Regions from separate parts of the Homo sapiens genome. Here all the other regions are linked to region 6. Evidence: promoter capture Hi-C in 16 types of primary human blood cells and fetal thymus (Javierre and others, 2016). All regions are on one chromosome and are shown on one strand. Each heading gives the region's core, a stretch centred on a gene start or on the middle of the fragment in contact. The rest is flanking DNA. Distances are from core to core; before and after follow the strand shown.

Region 1 (3,921 bases), core at 99-2,598, 550 kb before region 6:
TAGTACTTAGGAAGGTTCTGAATGATCCACCTCCTTCTCTTTCCATGGCCCCATCCCTTTCGGCCCTCCTCACTCACTAAGCCTTAGCCCTGGCCTCCTTGCTGTTCCCTGAGCAAGCCAAGGTGCACTCCCATCTTAGGGCCTCAAATGACTTACTCCCTCACCTCCCCTGCACATTCTTAAAAGTCCATCCCAGCCAGGAGCAGTGGCTCACACCTGTAATCCTAGCACTCTGGGAGGCTGAGGCGGGTGGATCACCTGAGGTCAGGAGTTCAAGACCAGCTGGCCAACATGGTAAAACCCCGTCTCTACTAAAAATACAAACAATTAGCCAGGCGTAGTGGTGGGCGCCTGTAATCCCAGCTACTCAGGAGGTTGAGGCTTGAACCCCAGAGGCAGAGGTTGCGGTGAGCGCAGATCGCGCTATTGCACTCTAGCCTGGATGACAGAGTGAGACTCCATCTCAAAAAAAAAAAAAAAAAGTCCATCCAATTGGAAATACAGTCCCCAGCACTCTTTTTTTCATTTCTTTCTTCTGTCCTTTTTCTCCATGGTATTTATCACATTCTAATATATTAATAATTTATTTACTTGTTGATCTTCTCCCACTAAAAAACAAGCTAAATGCAGGCAGGGCTTCAAGAGTGCTTGGCACATAGTTGGTCCTCACTAAATAAATGCTAAACAATGAGTAAATGAACAAATGAAACTTTTTTTTTCTTTTTAAGAGACGGAGTCTTGCTCTGTCGCCCAGGCTGGAGAGCAGTGGTGCGATCTCAGTTCACTGCAAGCTCTGCCTCCCGGGTTCATGCCATTCTCCTGCCTCAGCCTCCCGAGCAGCTGGGACTACAGGTGCCCACCACCACACCCAGCTAATTTTTTGTATTTTTAGTAGAGACGGGGTTTCACCGTGTTAGCCAGGATGGTCTCGATCTCCTGACCTCGTAATCCGCCTGCCTCGGCCTCCCAAAGTGCTGGGATTACAGGCATGAGCCACTGCACCCGGCCAGAACTTTTTACGTGCTTAGAATTGTGCCTGCCACATAGCAATAGCTCAGTAATAAGCTGTTATTACTATTATTTTCAAAGGGCTGATGTGATTGACAGGGAACTCACATATACTTGGTTTGTTATTTTCTGCTAGTTCAGCAAAGGACCAAGACAGGATATATGGTACCTACTTGCTAATACTTCCTTGTTGGCAGCACTCCCCTCTACTTCAGATGGTTCTGTAGCAACAGTGTCTTGACTGGGCTCCTTAACTCTCTCATCAGTGAGAAGGCTGACTGCCTGAGTAATGTCACCATTACTGGCCTATGGGAGAAAAAGACAATAGAAATTTCAAAAGTAATCATAGAATTTAAAACCAGTTTTGAGTATTAACTTTATTACCCTGGTGACACACTGAGTACTTTCAGGCATAATTCTAGGGTAGAATTATGAGACTATGGTGGACAGTAGGTCTAATGTGCTTGAAGCGTCTATTAAATGCCTCATTACAGGAGGGAGTTTCCATGCTCTGACTTCCCACAACACCCAAACAAAAGTGAAATCTTGATGGAGATTTGTTCCCATTGCTTCGGATACTACTACTCATGATTTCTCTGAACAGTCTAAAGCACGATGTGTCAAAAAAGGGGGCTGGCAATTAACATAGACATTCTAAATGAAGTCAGCCCTACAATAAAAATGCCAAGCAGGGCAGGCGCAGTGGCTCACACGCCTGTAATCCCAGCACACTGGGAGGCCAAGGCGGGCAGATCGCTTGAGCCCAGGAATTGGAGACCAGCTTGAGCAACTTGGCAAAACCCCATCCCTACCAAAAATACAAAAACTAGCCAGGCGTGAGTCCCAGCTACTAGGGAGGCTGAGGTGGGAGGATCGCTTGAGCCCAGGAGGCAGAGGGCAGAGGCTGCAGTGAGCCGAGATCACACCACTGCACTGCAGGCAAGGCAACTGAGTGAGATCCTGTCTCCTGTCTCAAAAAAAAAAAAAAAAAAAAAAAAAAAGCCACGCAGTTACCTGTTTTCTAGTGGTGATCATTCTTGTTTTTAATGTTTTATGAGGAAACATTTCTAACATATATACCAGGAAAGGGAATAACAGAACCCCATGTACCTATCACTCATCTTCAACAATTACCTAGTCACTTAGTCATAACCTTTCTTATTTTCTCTAAACCTCCTATACTCTCGTAGATATTCTGAATCAAACCCTAACCATCTTATCACTGGTCAACATTTCAGAACATATCTTTTAAAAATATAACCCATGGCCCGGCGTGGTGGCTCATGCCTGTAATCCCAACACTGTGGGAGGCCAGGTCGGGTGGATCACTTGAGGTCAGGAGTTCAAGACCAGCCTGGCCAATATGGTGAAACCCCGTCTCTACTAAAAATACAAAAATTAGCCAGGTGTGGTGGCGCATGCCTGTAATCCCAGCTACTTGGGAGGCTGACTGAGGTGGGAGAACAGCTTGAATGCGGGAGGGAGAGGCTGCAGTGAGCCAAGATTGTGCTACTGCACTCCAGCCTGGGCATCAGAGTGAGACTCCATCTCAAAAAAAAAAAAAAGTATATATATATACATACCTTAAGAATAACAACAGGTTTTTTCAATATCAGATAACCAGTTCAAACTTCCCTGACTCAAATATTATTTAGTTTGCTGGTTTGGATCAGGAAATATAAGGCCTAAACAGTGCAACTGGTTGATGTTTCTTAAATCTCTTTTATACCCTGCAGGGTTACCCGAACCACAAATCTCCCCCAGCCCCTTATAATTTACATGTTGAAGACATTGGGTCAGTCATTTGACCTGTAGAGCTTCTGTCCCTATATGTGCTTTAATTTGGGAATAGAAATAGCTTGAACTGACATAACTATAATATAGACAGCTGCTTTAAAGCCTCCTGACTAACAGAGATCTGGAAACCAACCTTCAGAGCTTCATGGAGAAAGGAAGGGTCCTGAATGCCTGTGATTTCTCTCAGTTGATTTAACAGCATTTGGCAGCTCTATATTTGCAAAACAAAAAAACCACAAACATGTCAGTCAGAAAGTAAACCTGGGTACATTTAAAGAATAACTAAAAGCATCTTGGATAAACAGGCCTGAGGCTTGCCCAGGCTGGAGTGCAGTGGCCGGATCTCGGCTCACTGCAACCTCCGCCTCCCAGGTTCAAGCGATTCTCCTGCCTCAGCCTCCCGAGTAGTTGGGATTACAGGCACAGGCCACCACGCCCAGCTAAGTTTTGTATTTTTAGTAGTGACGGGGTTTCACATTGTTGGTCAGGCTGGTCTTGATCTGCTGACCTCGTGATCCACCCGCCTAGGCCTCCCAAAGTCCGCTGGGATTACAGGTGTGGGCCAATGCAAACGGCCCTGCATTTTTTTACTCTAAAGAACCAACAAGCTCCAAGAAACAAGGTATTGGCTGTCAGAAATATTCTGAAATGCCAAATCTATTTCTCTTTTAAAAGTTCAATCATGGAAATACCTTTGGTACTTACGAAAGAAATAGATGACAGTAAAATTACAAATATATAAAACATTTAAATGTAATATTCTAGCCTTAATGGACACTTAAAAGTTCTCCAGGTTTTTCTTTTGGTAGGCAGTGCATTAAGTAGGGCATATAAGGAGTCCGGGGAATTTGCATGGATATAAAGATGTGCTATTTTAAGCTTTCCTGCACATGCCATTAGTGTGTATCATTTTTCACTGACAATAAGTTTCCAATCATGTAATTAACCAATGATAACACCAACATATTTAAAACTCTGTGTTTGACTAATTAAAAAGTACAGCTAAAGCTAGAATTTTCTCAATTAAATACATAATTTCAAAGGGTATAAAGTATGAAATGTTTTCTCTTCATTAACCTAAATCATGGAAAAACCTAAATTGTTAACTTCCAGCTA
Region 2 (4,223 bases), core at 1,509-4,008, 640 kb before region 6:
TTACTTTAGCCACAGCAAGAATGGTTAGCCAGGCTATTCAATATGACAGCTGAGAAAAGCACATAGAAGGTAAATCAAATAGACTTAAAAAAAAAAAAAAGCAGTATTAAAACACAAGAGACTTCACTTTTAATGGTACAACAACCAAAAACATGATTTATGGAATACAGAAACTGGCTGTGTCTAGTGTGAATACACCAAGATCAACAGGCTGAAATAGAATTTATTTCCTATGTTAAACTAAGTTTGGTTATATCAGATTAATAGAGGTTTTAATGGAAATATGTAAAACAACACTTGGTTCATTTCTTCTTCTCCTATAATTAAAGCACGAGTTCCAATTTGTGACGGTACTGGGAGTCCAGTGAGAGAAGTGCATCCTAGAATTCAACTAAAATAATATCACAAATACAGAATCTGGGGTACCACTGATGGCCCTACTTGTCAATACAATGCAGAGAAGGAATGCAAAATAGGCAAAAAAACAAGAAGGCAACTCTTTTGCCCCTATGGCACAATTTACTTACTTTTCATCCTCCTTTCTCACACATTATAGGCATTTCTACTTTAAAATAATATTTACTTTTATAAACAATATTTAGTTTCCAAAATATAAAAGCACTGCCTTGGAGACACATACCTAGAAGCTGTTTCTGGAGCACTTCTAGTACCAGTCTGATCTTTGTAAAAACTTCAGATGGTGATGGATATTCCAAGTTAGTCATTATAGATTCAAAACGAATAATAACTATGTTAGGCTGGCTTTCTATCACAGCATGAAGGGATGGGCAAGATGCCAGCGGCCTAAGGATATACTTCAGCAGCATCTGACCTGAAAAATCATATGAACATTCATCAAAAAATCACCATAAGACACTTCTAGGCCAGGCACAGTGGCTTACATCTGTAATCCCAGCACTTTGGGAGGCCGAGGCAGGTGGATCATCTGAGGCCAGCCTGGCCAACATGGTGAGATCCCGTCTCTACTGAAAATACAAAAATTAGCTGGGCATGGTGGCAGGCACCTGTAAATCCCAGCTACTCGGGAGGCTGAGGCAGGAGAACTGCCTGAACCCAGGAGGCAGAGGTTGCAGTAAGCTGAGATCATGCCATTGCACTCCAGCCTGGGCGACAAAAGCGAAAACTCCATCTCAAAAAAAAACACTTCTAAAAAGTAAGCATGTCAAAAAAAAAATATGAATCTTTGAACCTAACAACCAAAATACATATACCATGACATTACACACCAACCATTATGCGGTGCAGGTTTTACCACTGAAGTTTCCCAGATTGTCTACAGATTTTTATTTAAATTATTCAAAAACCAAAAAAAAAAATAGGAACAGTTGAAAAAAAAAAAACCCAATCCCTTAATAAAAGGGATAATATTTAGGACAATTCTCTTTGATGAATCAAGAGGCCAGACCCTATACTAATACTCTGCAGAGAATATTTTATCATCTTTTCTGTCTTCCCTTTAATACTGGGCCTCAGGAGATTTTGTGTAAATGAAACAAAGTAGCATGCCTTACCAAATGATTTAAGCTTGCTGTGTAGTTCTCCAAGAACAGAAAATGCCAAGAGGACAGAACTGATGGGTGGCATAGGGGTCTTCTCCTCTTTGTGCGATTGTTCAGTGTATAAATGAAGTTCAGTTTGTAGGTAAGATTCCAAACTGCTGGTATCTAAGAAAAAGGAAGAAAAATATCAGCTGTCTCACCAATATGAGATGTTCCCACTTCTATTCCTCAGAGCTCATTCTCTGATATTTCCAATGCAGTTCTATTACAATATACTCCTAATGCAACCAAATATGAATTATGACATACATGTCCTTGGCATCACTTTAAAAAAGGAAATGACTTTTTGAGGTCAGGTGCAGGGGCTCATGTCTGTAATCCCAGCACTTTGGGAGGTCGAGGCGGGAGGATCACTTGAGCCCAGGAGTTCAAGACCAGCCTGGGCAACGTAGTGAGACGCTGTCTCTAACAAAAAATTTAAAAATTGGTCAGGCGTGGTAGCACGCACCTGTGGTCACAGCTACTGGGGGCAGGGTGGGAGAAGTAGTTGGGGCTGAGGCAGAAGGATCGCTTCAGCCTGGGAGTTTGAGACTGCAGTGAACTATGATTGAGCTACTGCACTCCAGCCTGGGCGACAGAGCGAGACCCTGTTTCAAAAAAAAAGAAAAATGAGGTCCTAGTTTCACAGACCTTCCTTTCTATGTTCTTTCTGCCAAACAAGTTTAACAAGTAGGGTGTGTTATAACAAATAATTCAACACACCTGCCCTCTTCTCTTAACTAATATTCTACTTGAGAACAGAATCTAAAATTTTCAGGATAACTCCCTTCAAATACCTGACACACATACACATATGCACATATGTGTCTATGTACACACATATGTATATAATGAATTTGTAGGCCAAAGTGGATATAGGAAAGGGAACAGGGGGAGAAAGTTTCTCTTGAAATACACTAAATTTCAAAATCCAGTGTTGGAAAATACACCAGGTACAATAGCATGTCCTTTAAATACAGCCTCTGAAGTTTTACTCTCAGGGCAAACAACACACCAAAGAGGGCTCATACCCAGAGGTAGGCAGAAAGGCTGACAGCCAAGTAGCATAAATCAAAGCCAGGGCAGAAGTAATCCTATTTCTTCACCTTGCAAAGCACTCCCTAGCTCATTATTTTCCCCAAGGACTGGAAAGAAATTGAGCAAGACCCCTCCTCTACCCACAAGCCTACTGATCCATCTTCTTTCCTAAGCAAGAGAGAGAATGGCTAGAGAGCTCCTTTACACTTTCTAGCCAAGATAAACTGCTAGGATTAGGGCTGTCAGGAACGGGCACGTCCTACAAGGCAATGGAAACTTAATGTGGTCGCAAATTGCTATCATCTCCTCTAGCACACTCTCACCACATGATCCCAACTACCCTAGCATCTTTTCTCACATTTCTAGGGAACAGGACAGCTAAGAGGGATGTAAGGGAAGCAAGGTGAGGGCACTTTAGGGACCCAGATGAGTTGGTCCTAAGAAAGCATCTTGCTAACATGAGTGCTCAATACAGACATGGAAGATTATGAATGAACCCTCATCTACTAATACAAAAATGTAGAATATATTCAGACACTACACTGGTTCAGGCAGATGAAGCAAAGCAGTCCACCTGAGGTCAGCAGCACCTTTTGATGGTGGGAACTTCCATACAATCAGCTTCTGCCACTCTTCTCCAAGGTGATAAAGTATGTTCTGTTTCTGTATTGTGAGCTCCATGCTGAGAGATTTCAATATTTTTAAATCAAAGCATTTTCTGGATTTTAATAACTTCAAGCATTTCTGTGCCTGGTAACGAAATGGAATCACTGTTAAACATTCCATCTGGACTCAGGGCAATTAGAATATATTTGCATAATGATAAAAAATACAAAATTTACTGAAAACAAGAAGAGCACTTATTGCGCATGCTTTGGGGAGAGCATTTAGTACCTCTTCCAGACGCTGAGCACCAGTGACATACTTCTTCTCTGTTAATGCACAATTATATTCTTCAATAGCAGTGGAAAACTGAAAAGTTAAGTATAATATTTTATACATCCTATTATTTCAAGTCTGTTTGCTTTTAAACATTAAGAAATGCTCCCACTTTCCCTCCCCCTCCCCCCTCTAAAAAAAAAAAAAGAAAGAAAAAAAAATATGAAGACAAAAAAACCCATTATAGTCAGGAGATAGCCATTGACTAATGAGACCTTCCCACCACCAAAACACTAAGGTTCAAGTTGAGTTTACTGACCTCCTGCAACTGTTTAAGCAAACTTAGGACAACTGAGTCTCTTTCCAACTGCTGCTTTAAGTCTGTAAATTCACCGGTTGATACGTGAAGATCCCGGCGGACCTAATTCACACATCAAAAACAAGTACTTTTAAGCTATACCATACCTAAGAAATAAAAAATTTAAAGCAAATCAATAAGCTTTACTAGGTCAACATAATTTATGTTGAAATTTAAATGCTAGTTAAGACTGGAATAAAAATCACAGAATGTAGTAGGAAGATACCTTAGAGGTCCAACTAGTCCAAACCCTTATCCTATTGCAAGAATACCCATTCCTCTCAACATAATATCCTCATGTCACCATCTATTCTTAATTTAAGCAGGTATCTTTCATCAGAGAGCTCACCCACCTGGATTACTAGAAAGGTATCCCCACTGCCAAGTGA
Region 3 (3,736 bases), core at 997-3,496, 590 kb before region 6:
ATTTTGTTCCATGCCTATTTTATTTGGCAACAAAATTTAAGTTAACATATTTAATTCAGCCACATGCTTCTTAGAGTTAAGTGACCACTTATCTATCTGGAGTGAAGACCCTTTTAATGACATACTTGTTTGTTACAACATTTGAAAAGCACATTTGTGTATTTTCAATATAGAGAAAATAGAGCAATGCTTAAATGCTAACTAAATACTAGTAAAAGAGATGAAAGTCAGTCACAGAATCAAATTAAATTTACACTTACTTTGACCTATTTTAATTACTGGTGAAGATTTTTGAATTAACACAAAAGAAAAAATGGGGAAGCCTGCGTTTTACATGGTGCATTCCTGTTAAGCAATGGGACTGTGCCTCAATGCCATTCTAGAAACAGGGCTCCCCTCCTCCAAGCCATTCTGCCCATTCCAGTCATTCATACAGAAGCCACTGAAAGTCCATGCCCCTAACCAGAATAGGTTCAGAGACACTCCTGGAGGCTCTTTACCCCTCCATTCCCAGAATTTATTCTAACAAACACTTCTGTGGATAGTTAAGAATTTCTGTCCTAACTCTCTTTTGGAATTTATTATTACAGAAATAAAGCTTGAACGCATGTTGTTAAATTAAAGATCTTGAAGAATCATGGAACTTTGGGAAAGAAAGGATAACTGTTCTCTAGTTCAGTTTTTCCCACTGCACTACTTAAAGTACCATTTTGTAAGTAATTTTTATTAGTATCTGACAGCAAACCTTTCTACAATATGAAAAAATTCCATGTGGCAGAATTCAAACAAGTATGTGTTAGGTCCTGTTTTTGGTAAAAGGTATATTGCTTTCTTTAGCCTAAAATAAAGAAACAGAACAACATCAATTTATATCTTAAGTTTATTCTTTTATCTTAGGGGGATTCCCATTGGGTTTAAAAGAAAACTATCAAATTTGATTTTTGTATCTACCATTAGCACATGCCTTGACTACTTTCCCATCAATTTTCATTCTACCTGACGAAGGAGAGGATCGCAGTACATCTGTTCAATAGTCTGAGTAGTACTTGCAATACAAGTCTTTAAATCTGTTTGGAAAAAGAAAAACAAAAGCTTCACTAAAATGATCTCATTCTATGTCACACAGGCTACTTTAACTAAGCAAAGAATATTGCTAGGGTCCTAATGATTTCAGCTTCCCTCTATGAACCACGAAGCAATATACAGTTTTAAAGCAGCTAGTACTTTAGGTTATGAAAGCTTTTAGTTCAATATAATTACATTAAGGTTTTAAAACATTATTTTTTATAATTGCCAAAATTTCTTAAAGAGTAAGCTGTTTAGGAAAAGATCTTAATGGGTCACTTGGCTGTAAAATGTATGCCTCAGACAGGATCTGAAATGAGAAAGCAGAACAAAGGGTAAGGCTAAATTTCTCTGAATAGGAATCTGGGAAGAATCTGTATTTTCCATCATCTTTTTGTTCCCTAGACAAAAGGAGACAGGAAGGGGGGTAAGGTTAGTCTGAGCAATATGGGCAATGAGGTCAAAGGGCTTTTTAAGAATACAATGCTGAATAATCCAATTTTACATTGTGCATACTGCTCAAATACCTCATTAACCTTCAGTAAAGCATGCTTCCTATAGAAAAGACTGAAGAGTAGAAGTCCAGAAAAGCTAAATGCTAAATCTGGGTCAACTTAAGCTGGAGTTCAGATAATCTACCACAGAAACAGAAATCAGTTGATGCAGAAAAATCTCAGCAAAGGTGATCATTTCCCAGAAATTTTGAGGGGGAGATCTTTCCATATCTGTATAATGGGGGTGTGTGAGCCAAGTTTACAGGGCACTAAAAGTGCAAAAGAAGTCACAATTACCATGTCAAAATTCAAAAGCATGGGCCAGACGTAGTGGCTCACACCTATAATCCCAGCACTTTGGGAGGCCAAGGCAGGCAGATCAGTTTTGGTCAGGAGTTTAAGACCAGCCTGACCAACATGGTGAAACCCCATCTCTACTAAAAAAAAAAAAAAAATCAGCCAGGTGTGGTGGTACATGCCTATAATCCCAGCTACTTGGGAGGCTGAGCCATGAAAATCGCCTGAACCCGGAAGGCGGAGGTTTCAGTGAGCTGAGATTGCACCACTGCACTCCAGCCTGGGTGATAGAGTGAGACTCCATCTCGGCGGGGGGGAAATTCTGTAGCATGTACAGTAATGTCAGGAAGTGTACCGAGGTGCTTAACCTCCAAATAGTCAAAAAACAGAAAAAGCAAAGAGTAACTGACAAATTTTAAAAGAGCCAACCTTGTATATCTTGTTCAATCTCACTCCTCCATCTCTGAAGACAGGTCTTAACAAAATTTATCTCCTCATCTGTGACTGTTCGTGGAGCTGGCTGTGAAGGCATTTCCATGGAAGACCGAGAAGATGTCAGTGGTTTAGACTTGGGTAAAGAATCTTCAGGAGAAGAAAAGGTACTTTCAACATCCTGAGAAGAGCTTTCTGTACTTGTACTGAGGAAGACAAAAATCATGCTCATATGATAATTTCCAAAAGATACCTTGGCCTAAATTATGTACTTTGGAAAGCAAGATGCTATATGAAAAAGTACAGGTATTCAGTGAGCATTAACTCTATAAAGGTACAGAGCCAACCTTTTTCTCTATCATCTCACGTACCACAACTGGCCTGTGAGGTAGATACTTTTCTATCCCTATTTTACCAACTGTGAGCCTAAGGTTTAAATAAATTAAGCAACATGCCCAAGTTCACCAAGCTGGAAGGTAATGAAAATGAATCCAAAGCCAGATCGGCCAGTCTTTAGCTCATGTTCTCTGATCACTGATTATTCCTTCCCATGAGGATGGGAAGAGAAGGAAAATGGAAAAGAGAAGACTAGGCCTGGAAGAATCAAGGAATCAACTACAGAGTTTACAAGATGAAGCCAACTAAAGTGACACTATCCTTCCTGGAACAAAATACACAGAAGGAAGAAAAAGGAAGCATCAGCTGAACATACAACTCACAGGAATACACACTAGGTGACACCTTGGAGAGTTCTGAGAGAAGGGCTTCAAGTCAAACAATCCTAGCTCTACTACTTTAGCTAAATACCCAAGGAAAAAAGTATTAATATCTCATCTACAAAATATAAATCTTAAGTTCTTTACGTCTTTTCTGTAAACTAACAGAGAATAAAGCATATCAAGTAAATGTTAATTTCTCTATTGTCAGAGTAAAACTGCAGGTCAACAAACCAGCAGGAATATAAAATAAGCTTCTAATTGTAGTTAGGTTTCTCTTTTACACCAAAGCTGAAGAATATAAACTTCCTTTACTTTGACTTAAAAAAAAACTCTCACTCCTGCCGGGTACGGTGGCTCACGCCTGTAATCCCAGCACTTTGGGAGGCTAAGGAGGGCAAATTACCAGGTCAAGAGATCGAGACCACCCTGGCCAACATGGTGAAACCCCATCTCTACTAAAAATACAAAACTCAGCTGGGCATGGTGGCACGCCTGTAGTCCCAGCTACTTGGGAGGCTGAGGCAGGAGAATCGCTTGAACCCAGAAGGCGGAGGTTGCAGTGAGCTGAGATCATGCCACTGTACTCCAGCCTGGCGACAGAGTGAGACTCCATCTCAAAAAAACAAACAAACAAACAAACAAAAAAACCTCACTCCCTCCTCCTCACTCTCTCACATGCACAAAATAATGGAGGAAATCTCTTTTCCCTAAGGTCCATACTTATGGAAA
Region 4 (3,842 bases), core at 387-2,886, 600 kb before region 6:
CACACAAGACTCAATATTGACAGGGATTAAAAAGTGAAAGGCAAATGGTGGCACACAGGATGTTAAACTGTAAAGGGTAATCAGTAAGAAAATTGATCAACTTCCCATGAAACAATCTTTGCGATGAGTTTTAAAACACTAAAGCACCTCTGAATATCTGTAAAGCATGGCCTACCATTAATCAAAATACATTTTGACCCTTGAAAAACACAGGTTTGAACTGCATGAGTCCCATGAGGATTTTTTTCAACCAAATGCAGATTGAAAATAGAGTATTCACAGCATGTGAAAACCCAAGTGTATGGAGGGTCAACTTTTCCTATATGTGGGTTCTGCAAAGCCAACTACAGAATTTGAGTATGCATGGATTTTGGTATATGCAGGGGTCCCAGCAATTGCCGGTGTCTGCTGAGGAATGACTACATAAGAAACTCCATTCTAAGAAAATTGCTGTTTTTGCATTCAAAAATTTGACAAAGTAGATAAGCTTACATGCAATGCAAATAGCCAATGAGATTAAAAAGCTTCAGTTACCACTAGGTGCTGCTCAATAATTGACTGTTGCCTTTTATTTCAAACACTGGCGCGTCAGTCCCCATCCAGTTTATCAACCCTCTAATCTGCTTTTTGGTTTTAAAGAAGAAAAATTGGAACAAGACAAATACCAAGTATGTCCATTTCCCAAATGGAAAATATATATTTAAATAAAGACCATACTGCACACCAAAGGTAAAACAAATACTTTTATTGCACATTTATAAAATCTGCATAGTTGTATCAATTTTTTTCCCTTTCATGATTCCATTAATCTTTAAAATTTGGTTAAAACACAATATCCAATCAGAAGCCTTTTAAAAATGATCAATGGGAAGTATTTTTCTCTACATATACATATATATATAGTTTTGCATATGTATGCTGGTTTTTTTTTTTTTTTTTTTTTTTTTGTACAAACCCACATCCCTTACTTTTAAGGGCAAAAAAGAAGGCCGGGTACGATGACTTGTCTGCAATCCCAGACTTTGGGAGGCTGAGGGAGGCAGATAGATCACTTGAGGCCAGGAGTTAGAGATCAGCCTGGCCAATATGGTGAAACCCCATCTCTATTAAAAATACAAAAATTAGCCAGGTGTGGTGGTGCATGCCCGTAATTCCAGCTATTCGGGAGGCTGAGGCACGAGAATCACTTGAGCCCAGGAGACAGAGTTTGCAGTGAGCTGAGATTGCACCACTGAACGCCAGCCTGGGCGACACAGTGAAACTGTCACAGAAAAAAAAAAAGAGCAAAAAAGAGGAGGTGGACCTAAATGGTCTTTGGGCCAGCAGTAGCCCTATTGACTGTTTTTGACAATTTTTAGGTATTAGAAAATTTTACCTAAATGCCTAATAACTATTAATGGATGATCTTCAGTCAAGTTACACAATGCTCTTCTGTCTAAAGTCCTTAATACTTTACTTTCTTTCACTGAGGACTGAGTATGAGGTTTTCTGGTTTAAAGATAGAAAAGAAAGGAGAGAGACAGGTCTCTTTTGACTTTTCAACATCTCACTGCCATGTGAGCTTATATTCTACCCACATGTAAAAGGGTGCAGTTCATCAGCAACCCATTTTGTTATCTCCTGGCAAGAGCCAGGCAAGGTTTATATTTCTAATCTCTTGTAGTTAAGAATTTTTAAATGTCATCTGTATTTGATAAAATAACTAGTAGCTGTTCATCTGGTTCAGGTTCTCATGAATCATTCTTCTATTCTGCTGTCAAAAATATTTATGCCTGAAGGATAATTTTAAAAGTGGCAAGAGGCTTAGAAAAGCCTAAGCATTGTTGTAGGTACAAGGCATTTCAGGTCTTCTGGCGTAATTCAACACCTTAATACACTGCTTTCTGCCTTTTCTAGTGAAACAGCTTTTATGATTTTGTACCTAAAAAGTGCAATTTTATTTTCAATCCTTCTTTACACATGCAGCATGGTTGGGGTCTGATCGGAATCTTATGTGCCCACCTAATCCTTTTCCCAAGGTGAGCACTATGACAACGAACTTCTGTGCAAGAGGCAGGCAGCCAGGAACCAGAATGGGCCTTGAACATGTGGGAGCTTATTTCACTGTCACAGTTGAAACTCCCTGAATTGACTCCATGACAGCTGCAAATCGGCTACATAGGTCATAGGGAGAATTGGGTCGAATAGTTGGAGGCTCTTTCAAGACGATGATTTCTGCAGAAGGATCTAGAAGTCTGGGTAGAAACTCCCCTAGGCACAGCTGCAGATTTTCTGTGGAGGGAAAACAGATGGTTACATATACAGCTAAACAGATTTCTGAGTAAAAGTGAACAAGCCTTCTATTAGCCCCTTACCTAACCTCAAAGGTCAAAGCATTATGCTGGCCAGTTACTAATAAATGATTATTCCTTCAGGCCAAACCAGGAGCAAAGGCAAATAAACCAAACTTTAGCTCACTGCTATATAACAACTATATAATTACTTTATTACGAAAGGGTCTTCTAACCAATTGTCTTCTTAAAATACAAGGAAGTAGATATGATACTCTAGCATAGATATGATGGTAATTATTTTCTTTCAAATGTTTACAATATATCAGTGTATACACATGGTTTTAAATCAGGGGTGTACAGTCTTTTGGCTTCCCTGGGCCACACATGAACCTCACTAACAATAGCTGATGAGGTTAAAAAAAAATTCATAATGTTTTAAGAAAGTTTAGAAATTTGTGTTGGGCTTCAGGTTGGACAAGCTTGGTCTAAATAAAAACTGAAGACAGTAAAGGGAAACACATGGCAACTAGCTATTACAGGATTTTTAAATAAATACTATCAACTTAAACACTTGAACAAGTCAATGGAATATCTTTTTTTTTTTTTGAGACGGAGTCTCACTCTGTCGCCCAGGCTGGAGTGCAGTGGCGCCATCTTTGCTCACTGCAAGCTCCGCCTCCCGGGTTCACGCCATTCTCCTGCCTCAGCCTCCCAAGTAGCTGGGACTACAGGTGCCCGCCACCACACCCGGCTAATTTTTTGTATTTTTAGTAGAGACGGGGTTTCACCATGTGAGCCAGGATGGTCTCCATCTCCTGACCTCGTGATCCGCCCACCTCAGCCTCCCAAAGCGCTGGGACTACAGGCGTGAGCCACTGCGCCCGGCCTTTTTTGTTTTGTTTGTTTTTTAAAGATAGGGTCTCACTCCAAGCTGGAGTGCAGTGGTATGATCTTGGGTCACTGTAGCCTCGGCCTCCCAGACTCAAGCAATCCTCTCACCTCAGGCTCCTGAGTAGCTAGAACTACACTATACCCAGCTAAGTTTTCATTTTTTGTAGAGGCAGGGTCTCACTATGTTGCCCAGGCTGGTCTCAAACTCCTGGGCTCAAGTGAGCCACCCACCTTGGCCTCCCAAAGTGCTGGGACTACAAGTGTCAGCCACTGTGCCTAGCCCCATCAATAGAGTATCTCTATGTCAGTGAGAACCTAACAAAGAGGATTCATATCAGAATATATAACAATTTTCCAAGTCTACTGAACTCACCTAAAAACAACCAGCTTTACATTCCCTCCTTAAGATGCTTTAAACAAGCAAGGACAGTCCACTAATTAATCTTGAAGTCATCATAGTTAATATGCTATATAACTTCAAGCCACAGAAAAAATTCATCAAGGCACCCCTCCCATAACCATACTCTGCATGATTTTTTTTTTTTTTTTTTGGATATGGAGTCTCATTCCGTGGCCCAGGCTGGATTGCACTGGTGCTATCTCGGCTCATTGCAAACTCCGCTGCCCAGGTTCAAGTGATTCTCCTGCCTCAGCCTCCCGAGTAGCTGGGATTACAGG
Region 5 (3,662 bases), core at 1,017-3,516, 530 kb before region 6:
TTTTAGAAAGGCTTGTACTAAAGTCGGAGAAATGTTATGCTTCAAGTCAGAATGGCTTGAAGTCACAGCTCTGCTACTTATAATTCAATCATGGTCATAAGCTGCATTTCTCATCTGTAAGATAGAAGCAAACAGACTTCAGTTTAAAATCTCATACGAATAAAGAAAAAAAGAGATAGGTACCATGGTTCACGCCTGTAATCCCAAAACTTTGGGAGGCTCAGGCGGGAGGATCACTGGAGCGCGGGAGTTCAAAACCAGCCTGGGCAACATAAAGAGACCCCCCATCTCTACAAAAACTAAAAATATTAGCTAGGCATGGTGGCACATGTCTGTAGTTCCAGCTACTCTGTAGGCTGAGGTAGGAGAATTGCTTGGGCCCAGGAGGTTGAGGCTGCAGTGAGCCATGATAGAGCCACTGCACTACTCCAGCCTAGGTGACAGAGTAAGACCATGTCTCAAAAAAAAAAAAAAAAGACAAAAGAAAGAAAAGGAATAAATAAAATAAATCTCATATGAGGCCCTTATAAGGCATACTAACATCTGAGGTCAGGCACGGTGGCTCATGCCTGTAATCCCAGCACTTTTGGAGGCTGAGGCAGGATGACTTGGTTCATAAGTTTGAGACCAGCCTGGGCAACACAGAGAGACCCCATTGCTAAAAAAACTTTTAAAATTAACCACAGGCTGGGTTCGGTGGCTCACGCCTATAATCCCAGCACTTTGGGAGGCCAAGGCAGACGGATCACCGGAGGTCAGGTGTTCAAGACCAGCCTGGCCAACATGGTGAAACCCCGTCTCTACTAAAAATACAAAAATTAGGCGTGGTGGCATGTGCCTGTAATCCCAGCTACTTGGGAGGCAGAGGCAGAAGAATCAATAGAACCCGGAAGGCGGGGGTTACAGTGAGCTGATCTCACGCCACTGTACTCCATCCTGGGCAACAGACTGCGGTCCGTCTCAAAAAATAAAATAAAACAAAAGTAGCCAGGTGTGGTGGTGCATACCTGTGGTCCCAGCTACTCAAGTGTCTGAGGATTGCTTGGGTCTGGGTGGTCAAGGCTGCAGTGAGCCTTGACGGTGTCACCACACTCCAGCTTGGGTGACAGAGTGAAACCCTATCTCAAAAAACAAACAAGACATCTCAGTTTCCTCATCAGTAATAGGGTAATAGTTCACACCTTGCTGGGTTTTTGTAAATAAAAATGTATGGAAAAGTGCTTAGGGTGGTACATAGCATATGGCAGACACGAGTAATACAAGTGTACATTCCCATGCCTAGTATAACAACCCTGGGAAAATAAGTATGAAGCAAACGTTTATAGCCAAGGAGGTTGATATTCAAGCAGACCTGTTCAAAAAGCACTGGGAAACAGAGTATAGAAGTCATTTGCAACTCAGGATTAGAAATGTAGATTTGGAGCCAGGTGTTCACGCCTGTAATCCCAGCACTTTGGGAGGCTGAGGTGGGCAGATCACCTGGGGTCAGGAGTTCAAGACCAACCTGACAAACATGGAGAAACCCTGTCTCTACTAAAAATACAAAATTAGCTGGGCATGGTGGTGCATGCCTGTAATCCCAGCCACTCGGGAGGCTGAGGCAGGAGAATCACTTGAACCCAGGAGGCGGAGGATGCAGTGAGCCAAGATCGTGCCAATGCACTCCACCCTGGGCAACAAGAGCGAAACTCCGTCTCAAAAAACAAAACAAGAAAAAAGTAACAGCAAAAAAGTGGTAATGAGGGATCATAAAAGCATAAAATAATAAAAGTATGAGGGGGCCAGGTGTGGTGGCTCATGCCTGTAATCCCAACACTTTGGGAGGCCAAGGCAGGAGGACTGCTTGAGCCCAGGAGTTCAAGACCAGCCTGGGCAACATAGCAAGACCTCGTCTCTATAAAAAATTAAAAAAACAGCCAAGTGCGGTGATGCACGCCTGTGGTCCCAGCTACTCAGGAGGCTGAGGTGGGAGGATCGCTTGAGCCTAGGAGGTCAAGGCCAAAGTGAGCTATAATCACATCGCTGCACCCCAGTCTGGGTGACAGAGGGAGAGATCCTGCCTTGGCAAAGTAGGCTGCTGAGCAGATTCTGATTACATAAAACCACTCACTGCCTTTCAACCTAACCTGCTGCTGCCTAGTCAGTCCCTCTGCAGGCCTCTGAACAATCAGCCATTTGCTGGAGCCCAGACTGGTCCACACGGCCATCTCATTATTTGGCTTTTGCAGAAGCTGTTATTGCCACCTTAAGCTCTGTAGCAGAATCTGGGAACCAACCTTCCTCAATCTCCTGTCAGCTAAGAGTTAGTCTTGCTCAAGTCTGTCTTTTCCAAGTTTTGTATATTGAGTCTGAATACATTGTCACTGGAAAAATGTTTTAGAAATGAAACAGGTGGGGTTAGAAACTTTGTTCCAAAAGCAAACAAGAGGAGGAAGGTGGAGACAACAGCTGGACTGGGCAATAGACACTTTTGTTGTTGTTATTTGGTTTCAAGATAGAGGACAAGTGCACGGTAAAATGGAAAATGCAAATTCAAAATGTAATATGCAAATGAATCACCCAAGAATCTTGTCAAAAGGCAGAAACTGATTGAATAGGTCTAGAGTGGGGGTACAGGCAGTGGTATGCTGATTGGCAGTGTATGCTTGTTTCCTTGGTATAAATATTCCCACCTTGGCACAGTTATCAACACGAGGTCATTGAACACAGAGCTGGAAAGAGATGTACAAAATCAGCTGGAGAGGCAGAGCAAGCTGGCTCTAGCACACTCAACTTTCTGCATGTCTAAATCCTAGGGGATGTGAATGCTGCTGGTCTGTGGACCATAATGTGAGTAGCAAGGGAGAAGACAGTGAAGGTGTCTGGGGGTTAGACTAGGACTAAGGAGAAGGGACATAATAGAAAGAGAAGAGAGACATCATCTAGATCAGAGTTTGTCAAGCTCAGCACTATTTTATACAATTTACACATAACTCTGTTTAGAGGGGCTTACTCCTGTACACTGCAGGATGTTTAGCAGCATTCCCGGCTTCTACGCACTACATTCCAGTAGCATCCTCCCTCCAGAGTCACAATCAAAGTCTCCAGACATTGCCAAATGCTTCCTAGATTACAAAATCTCTCCCTAGTAAAAACCATTAATCTAGGTTTATCTCTAAGAAATGAAAGGGGGAAAAAGGAAGGGAACCTTTTCCACTGAAATAAGAGAAAAGAGATGAGATGGCGTAGGGAGAGGGGGACAAAACAGAAGGCAGGGAGCTCTTTTTAGACATCAGCGAGCTCAGTCAAGTAGAAAAGAAGATTATCTATTTAGAAAGACTGTAGGGAGGACTGGAAGTTTAAAACATTAGGAGAGTTCTAGAAAAGGCATTATAAGAGTAGTGGAAAGTCTGTGATCCAGGGCAATGGGCCCATCAACTATGAGATAGGACCAGGGGCGCCTTGGGCTCTTGGGGTCAGAACTGCCTAGATACAATTCCAACTGTACCATATCCTCACTGGGTGACCTTGGACGAATTACTTAACAAGTATAAGCCTTCTCATAGAAACTTCATGGAGTTGTGTAAGTACTGAGAGAATGCTATGTTAAGTTCTGAGCACCGAGTCTGGCACATAGTGCATGCTCAATTAGCATTAGCTATTACTATTACCAGCATTATTTT
Region 6 (3,909 bases), core at 340-2,839:
AACCCATTAACTTTCTCAAAATACCACCCTTTAAACATTGGGAAATGTATGGTTAAGAGAACAAAAATAACAGCAAATAAGGAGTGATCAGCCAGGTAAGAGAAGAACCAGGATAGTGCAGTATTATGATGAAAAAAAAAAAAAAAAAGTCACTGCAACCAGTACTTATGTTTATTACTGTACCTAATAAACAGCCCAGCGTGGTGATTCCTATTCACTTAGTAGCCTCCCCATCTAGAATATACTCCGTGATCTTTCTTGATGGCCAGACTGTGTAAAATTCATACAGTGTTTACTACAGGGATCCCCAAATATTGTTAGTTGAATGAACAAACACACATTTCAAGGAGGGCACTACAGTGAGTAGATGAACAGTTTTCTGATAGGAGATTGTACAAGTAATGTTTTCACCAGTGTATTTTAGGACAGCAGATTCAGATTAATGCGCTGGGACTGAATGCAAATAGTAAAATTACAAATATAAAGTAAAAATTTGGAACCTTTGCCAAAGAAAGGAATAATAAATTGATTTAATAATTTGAAAGAACTGTAAGGTTTAGGTTTTGTTCTTATTTTTAGTGCGACTGAGATTGGAGTCTGTTTGTAGACATATCTGAAAAAAGTGAAGGGGGAGATGGAAGATGGTAAATGCCAAGGAAAAGATGGAAGGATAAATCAGTGTAATAAAAAGGAGCACTTCTTTTTCGCCAACAGAAGTAAAGGTAAAGGTTAAGTGTCTGAGTTAACGAATGGATTGTTGACCTCTGGGGAGGGTGCTCCCATCAGCTCAGCTTTGTGACGACCTAAGAATATCCCTTCCACACCTTTCCTGATCCAATCGTTCTGGCTGCATAAAACCACCTAAATCAATCAACTGTTACACTTCCCTTAGTGCTAGGACATATTCATATAACTCCCACGTATTAAATGAAAATACATCCATCTAAAAATAAAACAACACGATTGCTGCTACACCAAGAAAGGATTTTAAAAAGGCCTGTTCACAAGCTAAGTGAGGGCCAGAGGAAAGGTGTTCGTTTAAACTGAAATTCGAGCTGCGATAACACCTCCTAATGCAATCAAACGCTGTTGCAGCACACTTCTTAGGAGATCGGGTTCAACGGCAGGGATTGGGTAAGGTGAGAATCTGGCTTGGCGGCTCCGGCCCCGGCCATCTGGTTCCCTTGGGCTCCGGCCGCCACCATCCACTCGACGGCTCTCGGCCCGAACGCTTGGTCGCACCGCCTGCCGAGGTCCTAGATGAATCGCTTCAGGCCTGGAAACGAGGAAGCCGTCTCCGGAGACCATCGCCAACGCTGACGCCCGCGGTCTGAGGTCGCCATGGGAAGAGCGGTAGGCCACCCTGCTCCTCTGATCACCGGAGGACAGGGACACATTGTTCAGGGCCATATTCAAACACTGCCCGCAGTACTTGCGTTACGTCCCTTTGTGAAGGCAGGCCCTTCGCGGCTCCCCAGATCAGTCCAGCCTGTGTCGGACCCGATGACTAAGCACACAGGAACCCATAACTGAGCCTGCGGAAGAGCCAGAAGCCGCCTTGCCTTTAACGAGGGGTATCCTGGCGAGCATGCGCAGACCGTCCGCGCACGTCGTCGCCCGCTGAGAGCAAGCGCAACGGGCGTTTTCGTTTGTGACGCCAGGGAGCGTGAGGACGTGGGGCTTCCGTGAATGCGCAGTGGGTGCGTCGGCCACGACCTTTTGGCCAGGTTAGGGAGGGGGCGACGCTGAGATGGGGGCGGCGGCGGCGGAAGCGGATCGCACTCTCTTTGTGGGCAACCTTGAAACGAAAGTGACCGAGGAGCTCCTTTTCGAGCTTTTCCACCAGGTAAGCGGCTGGGTTCGGCCCTTTGCCTTTCGTTTTCCGTCTCGCCTAGGGCCTGGCCAGCGGCCACCCCGTTTTCTTTTCGTAGCCGTCAGGGGACCCGACGGGTGGCTGTTTGGGGGTGAAAGGCGGGTCTGGGTTGCGAAACGCTCGCTGGGTGTCGCTTTCCTGGAAGATCTTGGTTCGTTTAGGCCGAAAGTGACGACTAAAGGTGGTGGAGGGATCCTCGATCAGGTTTCCCGTGGTAGAGATCCAGGGGTCCTTGGGAACACAGTGTGTGTGTAGGGTCTTCGTTGAGCAGTGCTTTTTCTTATCCTTCCTGTTGTCATCTTCCCCTTAGGATAATTTGTCTTTGGTTTATCTGACTGGGAACTTAATATTTTAATTTATTTGTGTCTGTTTTCCCCTAAAGTTTGCTTATCAAATTGCAGCATTATTAAAATATGTAAAATAAAATGGTTAAGTACTCCGTAGAAAAACAGCATTTTAGTGTTGCTGTATTAAAAAGTGTGAAAAATTCTGAGTATCCTATTCCCCCCATCCCTATCCCCTAATAACTGGTATTGTTTGATTAATCAATACAAAAGTCCGTTTTTAGTTAAAGAAAATCATTCTCTTGTTCTTGATAAATGTTCATTTTCATGGAGTGGCAAAATAATGGCGATTGGTCACTATGTTAAGCCATACAGTGCTGTGAATTGCAAAAGTGATTGTGTTTCCAGTTCCTTATGGGCCCCCTTCCCCAAATAAATCTAATGTTCAGTCATAACTAGGATGTTTACTGTAGCCAAAATGGAAATCCGTGCATCATTTTCAAAAGAAGTTTCTGATTACGTTTCTGTTGTTTTTAAACTTTGTCATATCTTATTTGTAAAATTTGAGTATTTTCCCTTAGTTGCTTTATTTAAATTCTAAACACCTTTTTGTTTGTAGGCTGGGCCAGTAATAAAGGTGAAAATTCCAAAAGATAAGGATGGTAAACCAAAGCAGTTTGCGTTTGTGAATTTCAAACATGAAGTGTCTGTTCCTTATGCAATGAATCTACTTAATGGAATCAAACTTTATGGAAGGCCTATCAAAATTCAATTTAGATCAGGTAACTGCCCAATGAGGTTCGGGGGGCATTGTTTCCTGCTGTTTTTAAATTTATTATTCAGTTTTAAAGAACCTCTTATTTGTAGATGAAACTTCTTTCTTAAGCATTGTGAATAGTAAACTTTATATAGCAAACTTTATATATCCCTGAAAACGGGTAACATTGACACATGGATTTTGAAATTAGAATTTCAAAACTGAGCTTAAAGTTTCATTTTGGGTTAGTGAAAAAACATAAACTGTATCACTAAGAGAGCTGGGCTTGGGTACTCTGAAAAGAGCTAGGTTTATTTTCTGAAAATACTTCTCCTGGCTGCTTTGTAATTACTTTTATATATTTTGGTTCTTGATCATGTGAGGATGAAACTGTCCATGTATCCAGTGTTACAATTTAGGGTGGAGATCAGAAAATTATGGTCAGATTGGATATTTATGGAGTGCTTTGTTTTGCTTATCTGATATTATACACTTATAATTTTCACCCCGATGAAGCCGTAAAGCGGTCTACAGCAGCTTGAGATTCTTTTTTTTTTTTTTTTTTTTTTTTTTTTTTTTTTTTTTTGAGATGGAGTCTTGCCCTGTTGCCTAGGCTGGAGTGCAGTGGTGCAATTTCAGCTCACTGCAACCTCTGCCTCCCAGGTTCAAGTGATTCTCCTGCCTTAGCCTCCTGAGTAGCTGGGATTACAGGTGCACGCCACCACGCCTGGCTAATTCTTTGTATTTTTAGTAGAGGTGGGGTTTCACCATGTTGGTCAGGCTGGTCTCGAACTCCTGGCCTCGAGAGATGTGCCCACGTCAGCCTCCCAAAGTGCTGGGATTACAGGCGTCAGCCACCGCGCCCGGCCAGTAGTTTGAGATTTTTCTCTTTTAGATTGTGTTTACCTTTTTGGAGTGATTTCAAGTGGGGAAGACAAAATTTCAAATTAGATTTTCTATCAAGAATAATTTTTCAAATTGTTTCATTTTAGGAA
Region 7 (4,104 bases), core at 1,503-4,002, 620 kb before region 6:
GGCAAAAGAAAGGGAGATCAGACTGTTACTGTGTCTATGTAGAAAGGAAAGACATAAGAGACTCCATTTTGAAAAAGACCTCTACTTTAAATAATTGCTTTGCTGAGATGTTAATTTGTAGCTTTGCCCCAGCCACTTTGACCCAACCACTTTGATCCAATCTGGAGCTCACAAAAACATGTGTTGTATGAAATCAAGGTTTAAGGGATCTAGGGCTGTGCAGGACATACCTTGTTAACAAAATGTTTACAAGCAGTATACTTGGTAAAAGTCATCGCCATTCTCTAGTCTCAATAAACCAGGGACACAATGCACTGTGGAAAGCCGCAGGGACCCCTGCCCTTGAAAGCGGGGTATTGTCCAAGGTTTCTCCCCATGTGATAGTCTGAAATATGGCCTCATGGGATGAGAAAGATCTGACCGTCACCCTGCCCGACACCCGTAAAGGGTCTGTGCTGAGGTGGATTAGTAAAAGAGGAAAGCCTCTTGCAGTTGAGATAGGGGAAGGCCACTGTCTCCTGCCTGCCCCTGGGAACTGAATGTCTCGGTATAAAACCCAATTGTACATTTGTTCAATTCTGAGATAGGAGAAAAACCACCCTATGGTGGGAAGCCAGACATGTTTGCAGCAATGCTGCCTTGTTATTCTTTACTCCACTGAGATGTTTGGGTGGAGAGAAACATAAATCTGGCTTACCTGCACGTCCAGTCATAGTACCTTCCCTTGAACTTAATTATGACGTAGATTCTATTGTTCACGTGTTTTTCTCCTTACTATCACCCTGCCCTCCTACTACATTCCTTTTTACTGAAATAATGAAGATAATAATCAATAAAAACTGAGGGAACTCAGAGACCGGTGCCGGTGCAGGTCCTTGGTATGTTGAACGCCGGTCCCCTGGGCCCACTGTTGTTTCTATACACTTTGTCTCTGTGTCTTATTTCTTTTCTCAGTCTCTTGTCCCACCCGACTAGAAATACCCACAGGTGTGGAGGGGCAGGCCACCCCTTCATCTTCCTTTCAGGAACACCTTTGCTTTCACTTCATATCTACCACAGTGTGGAGCAGGTTAATTTGTGAATAGGGAAACACATGAGTCAGACATTCATGACTCCAACAGAATAAGTCCGTTTTCTTCTCTGTCTCGCTATAAAGACTAAGCCTCACCCACATGATGTGTCACCAGTGTGCAGGGGCAGCTGCTGCAGCCTGGGGACAAGAACATCAAATGTCCGAGTCTGAGCTGCCTGGTTCGTGTTGGATCTGTTGTTTACCAGCTGGGGGACCTTGGCAAGTTACGTAACATGTATCACACAGTGGCAGTGTGAAAATTAAATACGGATAAAGTGTCTAGCCAAAAGTCTGGCATTTAGCCGTACTCAGTAAATGCAAATTATTTCCTTTCCTGTCAGAACCTGCTACTTGGCAGCAGCAACAAACAGGAATGGAAGCTGGTATGATTACCATCTATTTATAGCTGCTGTCCCAGCAGCAAGGGGAGCCTGGGGAGGGAGCACCTCCCTCTGGGGATATTCTGTGTCTGGGTAGGTTCCTTGGATTGAGGAATTTAAAATTATTTTGTAAAATTAATATTTGTGGGCTTTTTGTAATAAAAATATTAAGTGATAAATTTATAAAATGTGTAAAATGCGTAAAATGCATAGGTAAGCACAAATAAGGAAATAAAAACTATGCATAATTTTATCACCAAAATAATCATGTTAACATTTTGTGGTCTACACATATACACACACACACGCACACACACACGCACACACACACGCACATATTTCTATATATTCTTTGGCTTTTTCTTTTTTCTGAGATGGGGTCTCACTCTGTCACCCAGGCTGGAGTGTAGTGGCATGATCTCGGCTAACTGCAACCTCCGCCTCCCAGGTTCAAGAGATTCTCCTGCCTCAGCCTCCTAAGCAGCTTGGACTACAGGCGTGTGTCACCATGCCCGGCTAATTTTTTTCACTTTCTTAGTAGAGGTGAGGTTTCGCCATGTTGCCCAGGCTGGCCTCGAACTCCTGGCCTCAAGTAATCCACCCACCTCAGCCTCCCAAAGTGCTGGGATTACAGGCATGAGCCACCGTGCCCGGCTGCATTCTATATATTCCATGTACTGTTTGGTCACTTGCTTTTCTCACTTAACAATATATCAAAAATATTTTTCAAATCATTAAAATTCTTTCTACAAAATCACTTTAAAATGGCTGCCAAGTATTAACAAAAACTGACAATTCTTAACAATATTTCAATGGACATTTTCATAAATCTTTGTACGTATTCATGATACATTAGGTAGATTCCTGGAGATAAGGTGCTGGGTCAAAGTATGCATATGTTTAAAAGCATGAAACATAAAGTCATGTTGCCCTTCAAAAAGATTATATCAACGTATATTTCCAGAACATCAATCATTCTTGTGATCTCAGAGCTGAGGAGTGATTTTAGTTTATGAATTTATTCATCAAATATGTATTGATGGCTCCCTGTATGGCTTTTTTGCTGGTCATGGGACCCTCCCCCAGATTTCACACCCACATCCGATATTGGACACACCCTCTAAACCCAAACATTGCCAATTCCTGGCACCTGCCTCAGCTGCTGCTCAGAATACTGAAACAAGAGCCCTCTCCCAATGTGAAAGATCTTCCACTCAAGCCTCCTGAAAAGTAGTCCCTGCTAACCAGTCACTGACCCACTCGTGCTCCTTTTCTTTCTGCATCTGTGGTGGGAGTGACTATGGCCTGGAGTTTCCGTGCAAAAGTCCAGCTCGGGGGGCTACTTCTCTCCCTCCTTGGCTGGGTCTGCTCCTGTGTTACCACCATCCTGCCCCAGTGGAAGACTCTTAATCTGGAACTGAACGAGATGGAGACCTGGATCATGGGGATTTGGGAGGTCTGCGTGGATCGAGAGGAAGTCGCCACTGTGTGCAAGGCCTTTGAATCCTTCTTGTCTCTGCCCCAGGAGCTCCAGGTAGCCCGCATCCTCATGGTAGCCTCCCATGGGCTGGGCCTATTGGGGCTTTTGCTCTGCAGCTTTGGGTCTGAATGCTTCCAGTTTCACAGGATCAGATGGGTATTCAAGAGGCGGCTTGGTCTCCTGGGAAGGACTTTGGAGGCATCCGCTTCAGCCACTACCCTCCTTCCAGTCTCCTGGGTGGCCCATGCCACAATCCAAGACTTCTGGGATGACAGCATCCCTGACATCATACCTCGGTGGGAGTTTGGAGGTGCCCTCTACTTGGGCTGGGCTGCTGGTATTTTCCTGGCTCTTGGTGGGCTACTCCTCATCTTCTCGGCCTGCCTGGGAAAAGAAGATGTGCCTTTTCCTTTGATGGCTGGTCCCACAGTCCCCCTATCCTGTGCTCCAGTGGAGGAGTCAGATGGCTCCTTCCACCTCATGCTAAGACCTAGGAACCTGGTCATCTAGGACTGGCTTCTGCCAAGGATCTCTGGAATAAAGGAATGTCTGTAGACTCCTTTCTCACTCTAGGTTTGTTTGCTTCATTTTGGGGCTGGTGGTCACTGTCCCACTTATCAAGGATGTGATTGTCTTGATGATATGGTAGTCCTCATTTCAGAATAAAAAATCAGGGCACAGTGTCTAACAAATGTATTTTTCTGATTTGAGATTTTATTTAGATAAAAATGCTTTAAAAAACTCATAACCTTAATTACATATTTGATTCTTTTATTACTAAGGAAAAATATATTACAAAATTGCAACCATCAGAGAAAATCTAGTGTGAAGAGGCACTTACTGTTCTGAATAGGTTACAAAAATAAAACTTGAAGAAGGTACCTTGGCAAAGGAAAATGAATTATTGTTCCAGAACAGCATCTTAGGACAGAAATTCTCTTTGTGTCCATTTTCAGCCTCAGGTGTACCATTTGAAAGACAACTTCACAATATACCTTTGCTGTTTTATAGATCCTTAATATCCCAAAGGAGAGACATAGGCTTGTTTCTGCTACATTGTGAGGCGATGAGCAGTCTACTCTGTCTTCCCCACCTGAAGGTTAACAGTCAGTCTGAGTGAGTGGTAGGGTGACCAACCCTCCTGGTTTGCCCAGAACAAGGTACTTTTGGTG

The links. Contacts are between HindIII fragments. The CHiCAGO score rates a contact against its expected background, and 5 or more counts as called.
Region 1: a fragment that was not itself captured here is called in contact with the fragment with the promoter of C11orf71 in region 6 in 2 of 17 cell types (total B cells and total CD8 T cells); the score reaches 7.0 in total B cells.
Region 2: a fragment that was not itself captured here is called in contact with the fragment with the promoter of C11orf71 in region 6 in 7 of 17 cell types (activated CD4 T cells, naive CD4 T cells, naive CD8 T cells and 4 more); the score reaches 6.6 in activated CD4 T cells.
Region 3: a contact is called between a fragment that was not itself captured here and the fragment with the promoter of C11orf71 in region 6, in 3 of 17 cell types (activated CD4 T cells, naive B cells and fetal thymus). The highest score is 6.3, in activated CD4 T cells.
Region 4: a fragment that was not itself captured here is called in contact with the fragment with the promoter of C11orf71 in region 6 in 6 of 17 cell types (total B cells, naive B cells, total CD4 T cells and 3 more); the score reaches 10.1 in total B cells.
Region 5: a fragment that was not itself captured here is called in contact with the fragment with the promoter of C11orf71 in region 6 in 10 of 17 cell types (total CD4 T cells, non-activated CD4 T cells, monocytes and 7 more); the score reaches 12.8 in total CD4 T cells.
Region 7: a contact is called between the fragment with the promoter of CLDN25 here and the fragment with the promoter of C11orf71 in region 6, in 10 of 17 cell types (total B cells, naive CD8 T cells, total CD4 T cells and 7 more). The highest score is 19.3, in total B cells.

What each region holds. Positions count from the first base shown.
Region 1 is chr11:113,851,320-113,855,240 of GRCh38, forward strand. It overlaps USP28 (ubiquitin specific peptidase 28), which reads right to left. Exons shown (of 26, transcript NM_001346252.4): 2 at 2,939-3,016; 3 at 1,182-1,314. Among named protein-coding and RNA genes, the nearest start is that of USP28, 22 kb to the right of the region's middle. RefSeq lists an enhancer at 1-504. The HindIII fragment of the contact is 4,668 bases long and covers 1-3,682 here.
Region 2 is chr11:113,757,022-113,761,244 of GRCh38, forward strand. It overlaps ZW10 (zw10 kinetochore protein), which reads right to left. Exons shown (of 16, transcript NM_004724.4): 3 at 3,796-3,897; 4 at 3,492-3,569; 5 at 3,188-3,347; 6 at 1,533-1,685; 7 at 641-832. Among named protein-coding and RNA genes, the nearest start is that of ZW10, 15 kb to the right of the region's middle. The HindIII fragment of the contact is 2,430 bases long and covers 1,544-3,973 here.
Region 3 is chr11:113,812,889-113,816,624 of GRCh38, forward strand. It overlaps USP28 (ubiquitin specific peptidase 28), which reads right to left. Exons shown (of 26, transcript NM_001346252.4): 14 at 2,286-2,494; 15 at 997-1,067. Among named protein-coding and RNA genes, the nearest start is that of CLDN25, 35 kb to the left of the region's middle. The HindIII fragment of the contact is 2,019 bases long and covers 1,238-3,256 here.
Region 4 is chr11:113,797,145-113,800,986 of GRCh38, forward strand. USP28 (ubiquitin specific peptidase 28) reads right to left here. Exons shown (of 26, transcript NM_001346252.4): 26 at 731-2,271. The coding sequence ends at 2,096. Among named protein-coding and RNA genes, the nearest start is that of CLDN25, 19 kb to the left of the region's middle. The HindIII fragment of the contact is 2,228 bases long and covers 523-2,750 here.
Region 5 is chr11:113,868,466-113,872,127 of GRCh38, forward strand. The region is part of intron 1 of USP28 (ubiquitin specific peptidase 28); the gene reads right to left. Among named protein-coding and RNA genes, the nearest start is that of USP28, 5.3 kb to the right of the region's middle. The HindIII fragment of the contact is 5,153 bases long and covers 1-3,662 here.
Region 6 is chr11:114,398,922-114,402,830 of GRCh38, forward strand. It overlaps C11orf71 (chromosome 11 open reading frame 71), which reads right to left and starts at 1,590. Exons shown (of 1, transcript NM_001271562.2): 1 at 1-1,590. The coding sequence starts at 1,410. The coding sequence ends at 1,039. It overlaps RBM7 (RNA binding motif protein 7), which reads left to right and starts at 1,745. Exons shown (of 5, transcript NM_001286045.2): 1 at 1,745-1,846; 2 at 2,777-2,939; 3 at 3,907-3,909. The coding sequence starts at 1,751. RefSeq lists enhancers at 832-1,374, 1,088-1,477, 1,375-1,917. The HindIII fragment of the contact is 8,162 bases long and covers 1-3,909 here.
Region 7 is chr11:113,777,044-113,781,147 of GRCh38, forward strand. CLDN25 (claudin 25) reads left to right here and starts at 2,753. Exons shown (of 1, transcript NM_001101389.1): 1 at 2,753-3,442. The coding sequence starts at 2,753. The coding sequence ends at 3,442. The HindIII fragment of the contact is 9,706 bases long and covers 1-4,104 here.